Linked DNA regions of Homo sapiens: all the other regions are linked to region 1. The links are contacts of gene promoters, found by promoter capture Hi-C in blood cells and fetal thymus (Javierre and others, 2016). All regions are on one chromosome and are shown on one strand. The core of a region is centred on a gene start or on the middle of the fragment in contact, and the rest is flanking DNA. Distances in the headings are between cores, read along the strand shown. Region 1 holds the start of ARPP21-AS1 (ARPP21 antisense RNA 1). Region 2 overlaps LOC101928135 (a long non-coding RNA gene). Region 3 overlaps LOC101928135 (a long non-coding RNA gene).

The links. The method cuts DNA at HindIII sites, captures the fragments that hold promoters and counts their contacts. A CHiCAGO score of 5 or more calls a contact.
Region 2: a contact is called between a fragment that was not itself captured here and the fragment with the promoter of ARPP21-AS1 in region 1, in 1 of 17 cell types (fetal thymus). The highest score is 8.1, in fetal thymus.
Region 3: a fragment that was not itself captured here is called in contact with the fragment with the promoter of ARPP21-AS1 in region 1 in 1 of 17 cell types (fetal thymus); the score reaches 5.7 in fetal thymus.

The regions. Positions count from the first base shown.
Region 1 is chr3:35,650,000-35,653,654 of GRCh38, reverse strand. ARPP21-AS1 (ARPP21 antisense RNA 1) reads left to right here and starts at 1,694. Exons shown (of 2, transcript NR_046679.1): 1 at 1,694-1,947; 2 at 3,171-3,458. All of the region lies in intron 1 of ARPP21 (cAMP regulated phosphoprotein 21), which reads right to left. The HindIII fragment of the contact is 403 bases long and covers 1,615-2,017 here.
Region 2 is chr3:35,290,215-35,293,869 of GRCh38, reverse strand. The region is part of intron 2 of LOC101928135 (a long non-coding RNA gene); the gene reads left to right. Among named protein-coding and RNA genes, the nearest start is that of ARPP21, 350 kb to the left of the region's middle. The HindIII fragment of the contact is 2,431 bases long and covers 887-3,317 here.
Region 3 is chr3:35,308,013-35,311,667 of GRCh38, reverse strand. The region is part of intron 1 of LOC101928135 (a long non-coding RNA gene); the gene reads left to right. Among named protein-coding and RNA genes, the nearest start is that of ARPP21, 330 kb to the left of the region's middle. The HindIII fragment of the contact is 1,332 bases long and covers 966-2,297 here.

The DNA.
Region 1 (3,655 bases), core at 445-2,944:
GAGGCAGAGATGGAATTCAAATTTAGATCACCATGATGTCAAACCTACCCCCTTCCTATGACACCGGGGGAGAGTGTGTCCCAAAGATATGTAAAATCAGGAGCTGATAGTCCGTGGCATCATTCGTGCCATAAACGGCAACCACAAGTATAGATCTGTGAAGCATGCAGACAAATTTCCGTGTACTTTGCGGCAGTTTCAAAAATTAATTTCCATGGCCTTCTTTGTCATGGCTTCACTATACCTACTTCCCTTAGCTCCTGATTCTTAGTTAGATGATACCCAGATGAGATAATTGAATTCTCTGTTTTGTGTGGCCGTTACATATTACAGGGTAATTCATATTACAAAGAAAAAAATTAAGGATGAAATAACTTCTTTCATTCTTCCTTCAACAAGAATCCCTAAATATATCATAACAGAGATAATGTCACTGCTATGACTACAGCCAAAAAGTAGATAGGTATGGACATTACATAGGCACACAAAGTCCCTTTCACACAGGAGGGAGTTTATAAATATCAGGTAACATTTACAGTACAAGACAATAAAACAAATTATTTATTTGAAATCACAATGCCACATGTAGCTTTTGATCAAACATAATCCAAAGGTAAACTCAAAATCAGTAGAAGAATACTGACTTTTCACTTATCACTGTCCCTGCGCCTTCAGCAAATAATACTCACAAGGCTACAGAAATCTTGGATTTCTATACAGATAAGAATTTTTGCCTGGAGAAACAAGGTAATTCAGAGTGCAGAAAGAGCAAGCCAAGTGAAGTAATTCCCGCAGAGCAGAACAAATGGCACAAATGACCTAATCAATACAGAAATAAGTACAGATTTCCTCCACAAATGGCCACATGGTAGCTTCCCTAACAAGTTCAGAAAAACATCACACTCCTTTCATGTAGATCTTCTTTACCATTTATCGATGTACCTCATCAGGAATACCTACATTTTAGCTGTCAATTCAATATATTAGGTAAATTTACCCAGTAAAATATATAAGCCCATTCAAGTTTGTAGGTCTGCTTCTGTCTCAATGCTGTAAATGCCTTGGCTAACAGTGCAAACTGTTTGATCCCTGCTTAAGCCTAAGGATCCAATCAATAAATGATGAAACAAGTGATATCTCCTCATCCTTTCTTAAAACATAAAAAACAGTCTATTTTCACAGCTAGATCAAAACAATGAGGTAATGTTTTCAGTGATTTTTAGAAAAATTGATTTTAGAGCTCTCTTCTCTTGCTAGATCCTTTGGGCAAATCTTTTATTATACAAATGGCCTTCTGCTGGATATAACCATTGGTTTTATCTGCAAAGTGAACAAGTCACAAGTTTACTGTAATTTTATTTGAAATCATTCTTAGTTCTTAGATAACAGTCCCAAATTGCTCCTGGAAGGATGCTAAGACTAAACTCTCTACAGTATTACTAGACAAATCTAGGAGACCTCTGTGAATCACCACCAGAACTACAATCTTACCCAAAGCTGAGTCACATTAGTAGATTATAAAATACTGCATGGAATCTTGTGTACACATAGAATTCTGAATCACCTATGAATACCCACATCTCTTTTTCAAAGTCTCTACTGCCCATCCAAGCTTATAAAAGGTCAAATCCTGCTGTCTGTGCAAGGAGTGCCTTCTAGAAACAATGACCTGCACTCTGTGTTCACAGATGGCCTCTCCTCACAGAACCATTGATGTGGAAGCATTCATCATATAGAGTATAGCTGTGTTGAAAACGGATTCCAATTATGCCTGAACAAAATATCCAAGATAACTGCCACATCATGAAAACATTCTCAACACTGGGAGGGGTTTTATGGGGATGCTTTAATTATGTGAGGCCTATGCAATCAAGAAAAAATAGTGATAAGGACATAAGAAACTCCAAAACTATGATCACCAGAAAAAAATGAGTACCAAGAAATGAGGTAAGAAGTTTATATTTAATTCTTAGAACAATCCCCTTTTAGAAATGAAACAGCTGAGGTTTAGAAAGCTTAAGAAACTTTCTACTAAGTTGCAGAGTTGGATCTGAGCCCAGGTCTGGGAACCCAGATTTTCTTTTCTTAACCAACTATTCTTGATAAGAGCACCTTCTAAAAATTTCACTCCTGTTGGGTAGCATTAGTGCTTACTTTCAGCGCTAAAGAACAAAGCATAGTTAACATTTATGAACAAGCCAATAAAAATGGATGCATGAATATTATACAAAAAAGTGTCATTAAATAATGGAAATTATAAACTGGAAGAGATCTTAGATATTATCTGGCATAATCCTGTCGCTTACAGGTAATTTCAAAAAGTAGGTTCTTTCTCAGTATTTCAGAGCAAGGTATTTGAACAAGAGGCAGGTCAGAGGCAATATATATTTCTCCAGACATCTCTCTGCCTCCAAATATCTAAATTGTTTTTGCTGCCAATGAAAAAATAATGCATCTTTTTCTTTAAAAAAAGATTATCCTTCAGATGACCTACAGATCAAATCTTTTATTCCTCTGTGGTTTTCCTACAGAACCATTTAAATTTCATCTTCCTCTGATCACAGGCACTATTTTTAATTTATTAAGGATTAACAGATTTTATAATATTTTATCATTTTTTTCTGAAATAATTTTCCTGTTTCCTTTCTCAAACACACAAATGTGGAATCTCACAACAAATTCAAAGAATAACTTGTCTTTTGATAAACCTAATTTTTAATTCTAAATACGTAGGCTGGTTCATGTATTTTCTATACTTTACTCTGATCAGGTACCTTAAACTGTGGATTCAGTTCACAATCCCAATGTAATTTCAACCATTTACTTGCAGCCCTAGTAACTAATACAGTAAATGTATGATTTAATGGGAGTGAAAAAGAGAATATGACTGGCTCATACTAATTTCATATACATTTGTCTTGGTTGATGGTGTTTTTTCTTGTTGGAGAGCAACCTAAATGTTGGTTTTACTTTGTGGCCTATTCCCACCAACAGAACTTTCCTCTCCACCAAAGCTTCTCAGTGGTGCTCACTCTTCCATGTTTGTTTTCTGGAAACAATATTTTTCTACCCTCAAAGTGTACGCTCTAGGGATTACCTAATTAACTTTATTGGTAAAGAAAGATTTTTCTAATTTGTTGGAATTAATTCATATTACTTTATCATCCAAGATATTGTCTACCTATCACTTTGGATTTTTGTGAAACTCTCAATTACTCAATTCATTGTTCAGAAAAGTTAAAATGCATTCATCTCATCCAAGTGCCTATAAAATCCTACACATCAAGTTTTCCCAAGTATTTAGCCTGAGACACAATACATAGAAAACTTCAATAAATACTTGAAAAATAAGAATGAATAAATGAGTGATGGTAATGATATCTGATGCAAAGACAAGCCTTGTTAGCCGTCACCCAAGAACTCAGCTGGCTACTTAACTTGGCTTCCATGGAAGTTCCCTTACTTTGAAACAATGTGTTCTCGAATGTATTTTGCTGGCTTCCTGATGAGAATATCAACGGTGTCAAAATCTATTGCTTTCTACATGTTCCTAAAGCCTGCCACAGTCTCAGAGAAGATAACGTGTTCCTCTTCTAAGTTAAGGTATAAGGTTTTGTTTTTTGTTTGTGTGTCTGTGTGTGTTTAAAGTGGATGG
Region 2 (3,655 bases), core at 853-3,352, 360 kb after region 1:
TGGAGACTTGCTCTGTCGCCCAGGCTGGAGTGCAGTGGCACGATCTTGGCTCACTGCAACCTCTGCCTCCCGGGTTCAAGTGATTCTCCTGCCTCAGCCTCCCAAGTAGCTGGGACTACAGGCTCCTGACACCATGCCCGGCTAATTTTTGTATTTTTAGTAGAGACGGGGTTTCATCATGTTGTCTAGGAAGGTCTTGAACTCTTGACCTAGTGATCTGCCTGCCTCAGCCTCCCAAAGTGCTGGGATTACAGGCGTGAGCCACCATGCCTGGCTTTGAGTCTATATTTTTAAAATATGGCTCTGAAATGTAAACATAGGATAGTTAAAAATTAGTATTCTTATGATCAACAATATAGATTCAATGACTTTATGCTAGGATTAGGTTACTGGAGTCCTAAACTATCATGATAAGAAATGGATAAATCCTAAGCCTCTTGATGTTTCCTACTTTGTCTGTAACTAGTTTTACCTTTAACTAGTCGGGCAAAACTTTCCTTCAACCTTAGAGAGCACTTTAATCCTAAATACATTTACCTTGACCACACTTATTTCAACTGTTTATTCATCTATATACCCATTGATTAGATATTGTGATTCCTTTTTATGGGATTGAAGTCTGTGTTAGGTGCTAGGTGTATGGAAATTAATAAAACACAAGAAGATGAGGACAAAAAAAACCTTGAGGCCACATTGAATATTAGGTCAGGATTGGAAAGGATCTCTCTTTATAGCAGCCCGAAGTGACCAATCCTCAGAAAGTAGAGCCAAAGAAGGTGTGTCTAGGTAGTTCGCTTTAGGAAGAAACTCAGGGGAACAGGAGTGGAAAAAGGACAACAATGGAAAATGAAAAAAGAAAACAAATACAAGGGTACATTGTCAAGCTTGCCACTGCTCTGGCAACAGGGGCAAAATTCTACTTGATTCTTTGATGCAGTCAAGTCTAACTTAATTCAGAATTTTCTGCTCAAGGAATGGTTCTAGGTCCCACGCCACGATGATCAGAGTTGCCACATGAAGTATTAAATCCCTCATCCTCCCATATTTGTGTATGAGTGATTGCCAGGGTGTTCTTTCAGATCTCTGGTTGTGGTCTTCAAGAACTCCTATAGAAGAAATGTATACACTGAACAGCTGAGCAATGTGGTTAGGTTACTCCTGAACCCAGCTGCCTGCTGGGCAATGAATAGGGTACAGGAGGATTGAGAGAATGTGAGGCGTAACACAGGAGGTAAAGGATATTGTGTCAAATAATAGGGAAGCTCAAAGTAGAGAAACTTAGCTGGATCAGCTTAGTGGGGACCTTATGGAGGAAACTCAAGTATTAAATGGGCAGTTGAACTATATGGCTTACATGATCCCTTAAACACTTGAGTTTATAAATACCAATACATATCACTATCTAATCCTAAATTCCAAACTCATACTGTTTCATAATGCCAGGTTGTTTCTTTTTCACTGTTACAGATAGCTCCTGCCTCTTCAGTGTCTGCTTTCATCCTGTGACTTTTCCATGACAAGCATTCTCAATTAAGCCCTTTAGAAGCATTTTGCAGATCAGCATTATAGAAGGTGCCCAGATCTAAGACAGTTTTTTACTGTTAATTGAAATTTGACCATGAATAAAATATGTAACCTCCCTGAGCCCTGGGTTCCATATATGAAAATGCACACTTATATTGCAATGTTTTAAATGGTTAAAACAGCCTAACATGCAGTAGACACTCTAAATAGCAGTTTTATTATCTCTTTACCTGAGGTTGTCAATTCCAAGGACAAGATTTGGCAGCATTCCTGCAACACAAAAATGTTATCACTAGGAGTCACTGGCATGTCATAGATCTGGGTTTCCTCCAAGGTAAGCAGTGAGTTGTGGAACTGAAGGGGATGTGTAGATTCCATAGTTGTCTCTACCACCCTCTTACTACCTTATCTCTTCTCTGCCATCATTAAGATGAAAATATGATTGGGCCAAAGCCTAATCTTTATCATTTACTAATGATCTTCATTAATATGCTGTTATTTCTGCCTTTTCTGATCGTTTTCATTTAAAAAATATGTTGGTGGTAGCAAGGCAATCTGGACCAACCGTGTAATTGACATTTTGAGTCATTGGGTAAAATATTTTACCAGTGTGCTGTGCTAGGCTCTAAGTCTGTGTTGAGGCCATGCTAAAATATCTGGCCAAAACAGTAAACTAGGTGAACAATGTAGATAAATGACATCATGGGGACAACATTTCCAGATAATCTACTGAATCACTGAGTGACATGATTGACGTTTTGGTTTTCTATAGACACGGAGTCTTGTTTTGTATCTTCACTGTTGCAATAACAGAGGAGAAATCCATTTCTTTTTTGGAAGACTGTTATTACTTCAGTGGAAAAAAAATCAATCATTCACAGTCAGAAAACCTGGAGTCTTCACCTACAAAATTCTAACCACAGTCCAATCACTACAACTCTCTAAGACTCAGTTTTCTCGTTTGTTTTAACAAGATAGGAATAATACATTTTTTTACTACATTGCTAGCTCCTAGCATTGGTGTAAGGATCAAGTGGAGTAAAGTAATAAAAAGTATTGTGTAAACAGGCAAATTTCTTTAACAAGTCATTTTGTTTTCTCGTACATAATTGTTTTGTCTTTATTCTTTATTGGACTTTTGAGGATTTGGATGGTGTCCTATTTATCTTTGAAATCCAGTTGCCTAAGTATAATGGTTGTCACATAGAATATACTTATTTTCAATTAAAAACATGCTTCTAAGTGAATGAGTTTGCTTTCTTAATTTTATATACATTTTAAGTTTTCAATGACCCACAGGAGCATGGCAAGTGCCCTGAGTTGTACTTCTTTCACACCCATGGAAAAAAGAGCCCATTAAGGATAAATGCATCATCTATGATCATAATTGAAAGTGGTACAGCAACTACTGCAGCCTGGATTCTCCACCTGTGCCTACTTTTTATGCGTAACATTTAACTTTTCTTATTCACAAAAATGGCATAGTTGGATATCTTTATTGCATACTTTTTGAAAGAATTTTTGATGTTAATTAAGAATTTCTCTCAGATCACAATACATACCATCAGAACTGCATATTTTTATTATGCCCTAAATATTTCCTCCTCACCCCTAGACACCGATAGGAATATGTGCTTTTTCCCGGTACTTCAAATGCAATATGCTGTGTTAAAATTAAACTAAAAATAAATTTTGGCTTTTTTGTGCTGATTTTGTCTCTTAGATCCAACCTGTTTATGTCTCTTCCTTTTATCATACACTTGGCAGCCATGACTGTTCTGGTACCTTAAGCTTGCCCACAAAAGCAAATCTCTTTTCTACTGCTACAGGGAGCCTGCTCCTTTGCCTGGTCAGTTCTCATCATGTGGCCTAGAAACCTCACTATTGTATTTTGTTTCTTTTTAATCATCACCAATTTTACCAAATGAATGTTGTTAGTAGGCCAAATGTGGCCACTCATGCCTGTAATGCCAGCACTTTGGGAGGCCAAGGTGGGTAGATCACCTGAGGAGTTCGACACTAGTCTGGCCAACATGATGAAACCCCATCTCTACTAAAAATACAAAAAATTAGCTGAGCAGGTGGTGGGCACCTGTAATCCTAGCTACTCGGGAGGCTGCAATTGAAACTG
Region 3 (3,655 bases), core at 382-2,881, 340 kb after region 1:
ATTTTAATTTTTAAAAATTAATTTTAAAAAATGCTTGACATATTAAACAAGATAGTTGGTATATGATAAACAGTCAATTAAGTTTGTTTGGGGCATAAAATATCAAATAAAATAAAAATCGAGGCCAGGTGCAGTGGCTAATACCTATAATTCCGAGCACTTTGGGAGGCCAAGGCAGGTGGATCACCTGAGGTCAGAAGTTGGAGACCAGCCTGGTCAACATGGTGAAACCCCCTTCTCTACTAAAAATACAAAAATTTGCTGGGCATGGTGGCCTGCACCTGTAATCCCAGCTGCTCAGGAGGCGGAGACAGGAGAATTACTTGAACCTGGGAGCTGGAGGTTGCAGTGAGCTGAGATTATACCACAGCACTCCAGCCTGAGCAACAAGAGTGAAACTCTGTCTCAAAAACAAACAAACAAACAAAAAAACCAAACACACCAAAGAAGAAACAAAATAAAAATAGATAATGTAAAATGATAAAGGATAAAGGTAATATATACAACTTGGACCCATCTATCATCATCACAGTATGTATTGATTTAAATAAATAACTCAGATATCTCAGATATTGCAAGGATAAATTGACGGAAATACAATGGAAGCATCCACTCATAGCATATTATATGTATCATGAAAATAAGAAGTAGATTGTCTGAATACAATGACTAATAAGGTTGATTCGTGGATATATTTGAAAATGTTACACTTTAATAAAAGCTTTCTTTTTAGCTACTCACAAGGAATTTAAAAACTTATTCCTATAGAAAGCCTTAAAACAAACCTTAGTAATCCAGCCTAATGAAATGCAGTAAGAAAATAAATTGGCAACCCAAAAAGGACCAGCTATAAAACCATAAATATCTGTGAAGGTAAAAATGAAAACAAAAAATAAGTATGTTAACCTTAAATAATAAGATTCAGAAAATATGATTAAGTTTAGAGTTTATTGAAGGGCAAAGCTTGAGGGTGATCACCTGTGAAGCACCAACCTCAAATTGGGTCAGTGTTCCAAAATAAAGAAGTTAAGGTTTCACTTATATAGGCAGAGACAGATAAATTTTAGCAGGATTACAACATTTCCCACACAAGACCAGTGCATGTTACAGGAATTCTATTGGTTACACGTTGCTACATTCCAAGAAAGATAACTGTATTACTCTGTGAGGACAGTAGTGATCAGAAGGGGTATCATCTCTGGTACCATTTGGTCTTCCTAATTATTTGCAGCAACAAAAGGCAGAAGTTGCAGCTGCATGCCACCTGACTCAGGCCACATAGCCACATTTCTCACAAGGCTTCGAATAATTTAAAGTTTCAACAGCTTTACATCTGAAATATTTAATTTCAGAAGTGTATATCTTTTGCCAAAGATAAAAACAGAAACCACAGAAAGATATAATCATAACATGTTTGCTGTGTATATTGTCAGAAATGTGAATATTACAATCTTTTGACATATATGTATGTATGTATTTTTTATAAACAAGTTTTTAATATTAGCCTAGAAAAGAAAGCTGATCTTGGTTCCTGAGACTGAGATTTATAGCAACCAGTGATATTTAGGCAAAGCACTTCCAGTATCCCTTCCAGGGCTTCACTAAGTCTTTTCCGCACTTCTCAAAACTCCAAGTTTCACTGATTTTCAAATTCCTCCCCTTTGGACACTAGTTTTCTGCTGTTTTTCACACTCTGCTTTAATGTCACAGTGGTTTGCCTCACTTTTTTTCAAGTTCTGTTTCACCTTTTAAAGCACCAAGCTAAGAGTTTCTCTTCACTGCATACTTAAAAAATGGATAGTTTAGAATAATAGACAATTTCCATAAGTACCATTTAACCATATAGCACTTATAGTTACACAGTGTCTTATGGTTAAAAATAGGCATTATTAATAAATATTCCCTGGTCACATAAATTTACAAATTGAGCACGTCTTCCTGAGAAACCTGACAGAATCTGCAAATTGCATATAATTCCCGAGGACTACTTTATGTTGGGATAATATATGTGGTATTTTATTTTTATTTAACAGGTATACAATTAATGTTTTCACATATTAAAAATACTAACCATTGAAAGGGAAATAAAATTTTACTAAAGTCTTTCCTTTAACCCCATTCATTAGATAACAAAATACCGAAAATATGTCTGTATTTAGTTTTTCTTTGTTTAACATTTTAAGATTATGTTTAACATTTAAGATTAAGAAATGTTTAACATTTTAAGATTATATTATATATATATATAAGATGTATATATATATCTTCATTCCTGATTATTGTTTTCTAGACAAGCTTTACAATCTCCCTGCTTTAGAAAACATTCATATGTTACTACCCACCTTCCCATTTTCTCCCTTCTAACTTCTAATCCCAATATTGTTGGATATATTACTATTATTTTCAGAGATTGACACTTCTAGCATTAAATTCTAAATTTAATATTTATTTCTTGATTTATCAAGCTTTGAAAATACCTACTAATTTTGTGCTATAAAAGAGAATGGAATAAGGACTTTATTTCTTTCATCTCTCTTCCCCCTTCCTATTACTATAAATATTGTATTTTACATTTACAAGGTTTATAGAATATACATTCTATTTCATTAAATAGCATTGAATTATTTGTGGTTTGTCGGTACTTTGATTTTCAAAAAAGAAAGCAATAATAGTATTCATAATATTATGATTATGTACATGTACATCACATTCATACAATAATGAAATTGTGTAGTTGAAACCATGTAAAAGAAAATGCAGCCTCACATCTTACAAAATTTCGAATTGTATATGTATTTCAGTGTGTTAGAGTGTATGAATTGTATATGTATTTCAGCGTGTTAGAGTGTATGAATTGTATATGTATTTCAGCGTGTTAGAGTGTATGAATTGTATATGTATTTCAGCGTGTTAGAGTGTATGAATTGTATATGTATTTCAGCGTGTTAGAGTGTATGAATTGTATATGTATTTCAGTGTGTTAGAGTGTATGAATTGTATATGTATTTCAGTGTGTTAGAGTGTATGAACTGTATATGTATTTCAGTGTGTTAGATTACACTTTATTTTTTGCTAGCATTCCCATTCTGCATTATGCTCAATTGTCATTGTTTATTTTAGCTCATGTTACCCCTGAGTTAAATTACTTTTAATTTCATTGAAATTACATCCTGATGAATATGTTTTTAAAATGTACTTGGCCAGGCATGGTGGCTCAAGCTTATAATCCTAACACTTTGGGAGGCCCATGTGGGCAGATCATGAGGTCAGGAGATCGAGACCATCCTGGCTAACACGGTAAAACCCATCTCTACTAAAAATACAGAAATTAGCCAGGCGTGGTGGCATGGGCCTGTAATTCCAGCTACTTGAGAGGCTGAGGCAGGAGAATTGCTTGAACCTGGGAAGTGGAGGTTGCAGTGAGCCAAGATCACACCACTGCACTCCAGCCTGGGCAACAGAGCGAGACTCCTGCTCAAAACAAACCAAAACAAAAAAATGTACTTAGAGAATAATGAATGTTGTAACCTTTTTCATAAATAAAACATCTTTATTTTGCCCTCATATTGGATTGGGGATGAAACTCTAGGTTTAAAGGTGATTTTTTTTCCCCCTCAGAATTGAGGACTTTTAAAATTATTTTCTGTATTCAATG